Regions from separate parts of the Homo sapiens genome. Here region 1 is linked to region 2. The links are contacts of gene promoters, found by promoter capture Hi-C in blood cells and fetal thymus (Javierre and others, 2016). All regions are on one chromosome and are shown on one strand. Each heading gives the region's core, a stretch centred on a gene start or on the middle of the fragment in contact. The rest is flanking DNA. Distances are from core to core; before and after follow the strand shown.

Region 1 (2,940 bases), core at 160-2,659, 1.7 Mb before region 2:
CGCATCTTGTTTAGATATGCTGGTCCTGAAGATGATGCTGCCATTACCTTGGTAATTAAGTTAATTTTTTAAAAGCTTTTGTTAGCCATCCCCCTACCTTCTATTCCTTTCCTCCCAGTCCTGGTTCCCTATGATAAGTCTCTTTTGAATGCTCAAGCTAGTTAATTTTAATTTTTCCCCCAGATGATGCTGTGCTTGTATAAACTTCTTTAATTGAAAGACCTTAGTTTAAATGTGTTTTTGATTAAAATATTGTAAAATAACCTAATTTTCCAGAAATTAAGAATTAGTTATTGGCCACTTATACATTTTAATTTTGTAATAAAATTTATTTTATTTTTAATGTGCAAAATCGTTACCTGGAATCTTTCAGGCATTTAGTAAGAAGAAGATTGATGACAGAAAAGAATGGTTAACAAATTTTATGGAAGACCGGAGACAGCGTAGGCTACATGGCTTACCAGAGGTTAGTCTTAAAGAGTGGTGACCTGGGGAAAGAAGGAGAGAGAGACTAGAATTCATGCAGTAATAATGATAATATTGCTATATAACTTTTCTCTTAGCAATTTTTATATGGTACTGCAACAAAGCATTTGACTTATAATGATTTCATCAACAAGGAATTGATTCTCTTCTCAAACTCAGACAATGAAAGATCTATACCATCTCTTGTTGATGGTGAGTAATATTTAAAAACCTCATTTTTTAATGTTATTTACTATAGTTTAATTTCATGTACTTTAAGCCATCCTTATGATACATATTAAAATTCTTACTTTAAATCTTGTATATGAAGAGCTTATTCAGAGGAATTTAAGGCCTTTTTGATTTTGCTTTTGTTTTATGTTTTCATAGTGCTGAAATCTTTAATATTCCTTAATTTGAAACTTTTAAACCTTTTCCGAGTTTTTCAGGAAAATTAACTTTAAAAGTCTTAAAGCTTTTGCCCAAGTTGTCTGCAGATTTTCTAAAAAAGTAAAATGGAACTTTGATAATTTCTAAAATATTTATCAGAGATTAAATTTTAAAAAGCTTTTATTCTGTATTACCCAAAGCCTAATGCTTTAACTTAACTTGAAAAAAATTTAGGAACTATTTCTAATTTGAAAAAAATTTAGAAACTATTTCTCGTTAGTTGAAGCAGATTTTGATCTTCTATCTAGAACTTTTTTTTTTCTCATAACCTTTATGAAGTTTGTTGATCTTTGTATTGCTTGGCTTTTCTGGTAATAGCAGATGTTTCTACCTATCCCTCAAGTTCTAGCCACAAATCGCCTTTCTTCTATGAAGCCTTCCTAGCAATTCTACTCTAAATTGGTCTTAGATACCTAAACTTCTATACCAATTATTATGTACCTCTTATTTTACCTTTGTTCATTTTGCCTCTAGAATTAGATTACAAAATTCTTAAAGAAGTTGCCATATTTTATCATCCTCATGTTTTTACCATACTCTGGGTCCAGTATGATTACAGTGATAGCATATACTGAAAAGATTGTTACTGTGCTTATTGGCCTAGAGCCAGGGTGTCTAACCTTTTGGCTTCCCTGGGCCACATTGGAAGAGGAAGAATTGTCTTGGGCCACATGTAAAAATACACTAACACTAACGATAGCTGATGAGCTTAAAACAAAAACAAACAAAAAACAAAAATAATTGCAAAAAAACCAAAAAACAAAAATAATCGCAAAAACAAACAAACAAAAAACCTCATGATGTTTTAAGAAAACTGACAAATTTGTGTTGGGCCACATGCAGCCCACGGGCCACGGGTTGGACAAGCTTGGCCTAGAGCAAGAAGAATGGTAAGGGAGCAGAGTGATTTGCTCACATTGTTTCATGCAATCCTTATGAAAACTATATTAAGAAAGTAATTATTTCTATTACTTGGATGAGGACATAGACTTACTAGTTATTTGCTTAGTCACATGGTAAATGGCCAAGTTGAGAAGAATATACAGATTAGTGAGATTCTAAAGCCTTTATTCTTCACTACCACAATAAATCGCTTTTTATAAGGGTTTTCCTGATGTGGGATACTTAGAATAGATTTCAGGCTCCTTGATGGCATGCTGGCAATTTAGTTAGCTACAAATGGCGTTTTGGTTGTTTGAGTGTTTGGAAACTACTGTTAAAGGAGTTTGGTACCACTAGGTGATTCTTTAAGGCCAGAATGTTGTCTTTCAATTGGCAGTTCACTTTTGGAGTAGATGGAGATGGCATAAAAACATCTTAGTATATACCTGCAGATGGCTTTCTAGGAAAAAACAAACAAACAAAACAAACGTGTTAGTATGTACTCACTTTGTTACAGAATCTCAAGTAACAATTTTACTGGTGTTCTTGAAAAGCAAATTGTATCTTTGCTTTATTCCCCTGAATTGTTACAACTATATCTTGAAGTAACATTTTAAAAGAGCTCTTTTAAAAATAGGCTTTAAACCTGGCCAGCGGAAAGTTTTATTTACCTGTTTCAAGAGGAATGATAAACGTGAAGTAAAAGTTGCCCAGTTGGCTGGCTCTGTTGCTGAGATGTCGGCTTATCATCATGGAGAAGTAAGCATTAAGATTGGAATCAATTGAGAACTGTAATTATTGTCTTGAAGAATGATAATTACACATAGTATTTTTCCTTTAGTAAAGTCTTTGGAAATGTAAAAGAATTAAGAGAATATACAGATTAGTGAGATTCTAAAGCCTTTATTCTTCACTTGGATTTTAATTCAAGTTGGGGAGTAATTATAGAAAATTTAGAATATTAATGTTATGTTCTGCCTTCTTCTGTTGTATAGCAAGCATTGATGATGACTATTGTGAATTTGGCTCAGAACTTTGTGGGAAGTAACAACATTAACTTGCTTCAGCCTATTGGTCAGTTTGGAACTCGGCTTCATGGTGGCAAAGATGCTGCAAGCCCTCGTTATATTTTCACAATGTTAA
Region 2 (3,006 bases), core at 288-2,787:
CACCCTGTTGTTCCGTTGCAATGTAACAAAATGTGACAAGAAAAATATTTATAAAGCCAAATTCTCTTGATCAGATTCAGGAAAAGTCAGCGACCCACAGGTTAATTTTTTTTTAATTTAAATGAAGAATGTCCAGTCTTACATATGGTGTTGGAGTCACCTATGATCACCTGAGTCATCCTGACCATACGTGAGCTGCACGCTCAGCTGCGGGTGTGACCCGTTTACTGGAAAACTCCAGCCCGAAGGGATCTGGAAGCAGTTTTTAAGACTGTGTGTGTATGAGACAGGTCGCGTCCTAGAGCAAACGGTTTTTTTTGTAAACAGACGGCATCCTAACAGGGGCGGTGCTACCCAGTCTGCGGGGAGTCGCTCGGGATCGAAGCACCTCAGAGCTCCTTCGAGCGTATCCCTTCGGGAAAGCCCCACGCCTTCCCCGAGGCGCCTCCTCCGGCCTGCAGCACGCCCTCGTCCTGCACTTCCTCCTCGGAATCTGCAAGGTATGCAGCTACCAGCCTCCCCAGGCGCCGGTTCGTTTGGTTTGCGCGGGGTCCGCGCCTTGGGGTCACCTCGCGAAAAGAGCGTGCGGCGTCCGGTGCACTGCGGTGTCAGCGCCCGCTTCGGGGACGCCCCGCCGCGGGGGCTCAGCGGGCGCGCACGCGCGGCCTCCTCCGCAGTGTGCAACCCCGCGGGGGAGGAGGGAATCGCGGCGACGTCACTGCCCCGAGGCTTCCAAAGGGGCGGAGCCTCCCGGGAGGCTGCGGCGCTCCCAGCCAGCGCGCGCGCGCGCGCCCCCGCCCCCACGTGTCCCTGCGGCCCCGGGGAATGTGGGTCAGGGAGCCGAGCGGCCTCACGTGTCCCCGCCCGCCGCCGCCGCCTCAGCGCCCATTATGTAATGCCGCGTCACGCGCCCGCCCAGCCAACCGGCGCCCGCGCGCCGCCGAACGTAAACACAGCGCGCACGTGGCTCGCGCGGCCGGGCCATGTGAGGGGGGGGCCGGGCCGGGCGCCGGCAGGCCGCGCTGCGGCTTTGCAGGGAGACAAGAGGGCGGGCGCCGGGCGGCCCGGGGGGCGATGGGAACCGAGCCAGAGGCGGACACGCGGCGCGCAGCAGCCCACCCCGCCCCACCGGCCATGGGGACACCCCCTGCCGCCGCCCCCCAAAGTGCCCCGCGGGCTCTGAGCGCTCCCTCCGGCCATCCCCCACCCGCCGCAGTCCGGTTCTTACCTGCATTCACCTCCATGGTGCCCTCGCGGAGGCGGCCGGGGCCGCCCGCTTCCCGCAGAGGGGGCAGCGCCGCCGCCGCCGCCTCAGCGCCGCGCCGCCCCGGGCTGGAAGCAGCGGTGGTCGCGGGGCCCCCTCATGGGCAGAGCGGGCGGGGCTCCCGGGCCCCAGGCCGTGCAGCGCACAGCAGGCTGCAGCGAGAGAGGGTGGCGGCGGCCGGCGAGCGGCGCTCCTCGCTGGGTCCCTGACAACAAAAGCGGCGGCGCGGCGGCTTCCTGCAGCCAGCGCACCGCGGCGGCGAGGGCGGCTGACGGGGAGGGCAGCCGCGACCATGTGACCCGCGCACACACCCCCTCCCTCCGCCCGCCCTCGGCCGGCCGCTGCGGCGACCTCCGCCCCGCCGCTCCCCTCCCTCCCGCCCGCTTCCCGGCTCCCCGGCTACCCTTTTCTCCTGCGCTTCCCCCTTCTCCCCTTCCTTCTCCTTGCCGAGCCCCTCCTCTTCCTTCGTTTTTCCCCTCCGTGCCGTAAACCTCTTCTCCGTTTCCCTCCGCCGCATATTCCTCCCCTCCTCCTCCTCTTTCCTCTCCTCCCGGCTGCCTTTCCCGCCTCTGGCCGGGAGTCCTCTCCACGCCCTGCCCCCCAACCTGGTGGCTCTTAGGTCAAAGCGGTGGCTTGGCGCCGAGCAAGGGTGATTCTCAGGACCCCGGCTGGGCCGGCTGGTTCGGGCTTGCTCAACCCTTGCGCCCCCCACCCCCACCCCCCGCTCCCACCCGACCGACCTCCAAACGCTGGTCTCTGAGGGCACAGACCCTTCCCTTTCCCTCTGCACCCTCTAGGTGATTTTATCCAATCTCATAGCTTAAGTAGACCTATGTTCTTGTGATTCCCAGATTTATATTTCAAGCCAAGACCTCTCTTCTAATCTCCAGATTCCTACATCCAGCAGCCCGTTTGATTATGCCGCTTTTTTGCATCTCAGATTTTAGACGGGTGTACGCGTGTGTCCGAACTCAGCTAATGTGCAGTCAAGATCTGGGCGTTTCACCTTGAATGTAAATTTTAGATCAAAAGAAAAAAGCTAGACATAAATTGTATGCGTGCTGAGGTGAATTCTGAGGAAAGTGCATTGATGCCCGCAATTTAAACGCATTACTGAAGTAAGATGGGCTGATAGAGGCATGAATAGATGATATGGTAAGATGTTAAACTTAGGCGATGGGGATATGGGTGTTGCTTGTAAAACTCTTTCCAGTTTGCTCTGAAATTCTTCACTATAGAAGGTGGGGAAAATGTCACGTGGAAGACATATTTACATGTGCAACACCCTATTTCCCCACCCCCCAGGTTTCTTCACCATATCAATATTTACTGTTTTGGTAAATCTGCAAGTTCCTGAAGCCAGCAAAATTATGTTTCTCTCCTAACACTCTCACAGCCTTTTATTCTCCATTCAATCCATTAGCAAGTCTGAGCTATTCTACCTTCAAAATATGTTCAATCCCTGTTTCTCACCGTTGGTATTGCTAGAGCAAACCATTATCTCTTGCCTCAGCTACTGCTCTGGTTCCCTAACTAGGAGAGTGCTTCTTGGGTCCTCCTACAGTCACTTCTCCCCAGCAGTCAAAGTATTATTTTTAAAATGTAAATAAGATCTGATTACTCTGCTGAAAACCCTCCAATGGCTTCGTGTTACACTTTGAAAAAATTCAACGACTTAACCTGACCTGCTTCGCCCTGCACAGATGTGGGTCCTGCTTCTCTTTCCAAGGCTGTCTTGATAC

The links. Contacts are between HindIII fragments. The CHiCAGO score rates a contact against its expected background, and 5 or more counts as called.
Region 1: a contact is called between a fragment that was not itself captured here and the fragment with the promoter of NR1D2 in region 2, in 1 of 17 cell types (total CD8 T cells). The highest score is 6.1, in total CD8 T cells.

What each region holds. Positions count from the first base shown.
Region 1 is chr3:25,624,298-25,627,237 of GRCh38, reverse strand. TOP2B (DNA topoisomerase II beta) reads left to right here. Exons shown (of 36, transcript NM_001330700.2): 16 at 1-51; 17 at 374-466; 18 at 564-678; 19 at 2,435-2,556; 20 at 2,793-2,940. Among named protein-coding and RNA genes, the nearest start is that of TOP2B, 39 kb to the left of the region's middle. The HindIII fragment of the contact is 750 bases long and covers 1,035-1,784 here.
Region 2 is chr3:23,943,817-23,946,822 of GRCh38, reverse strand. NR1D2 (nuclear receptor subfamily 1 group D member 2) reads right to left here and starts at 1,537. Exons shown (of 8, transcript NM_005126.5): 1 at 1,229-1,537. The coding sequence starts at 1,244. It overlaps LOC124909354 (a long non-coding RNA gene), which reads left to right and starts at 1,643. Exons shown (of 2, transcript XR_007095845.1): 1 at 1,643-3,006. It also overlaps a transcript of NKIRAS1 not described here. RefSeq lists silencers at 446-987, 484-1,673. The HindIII fragment of the contact is 14,696 bases long and covers 1-3,006 here.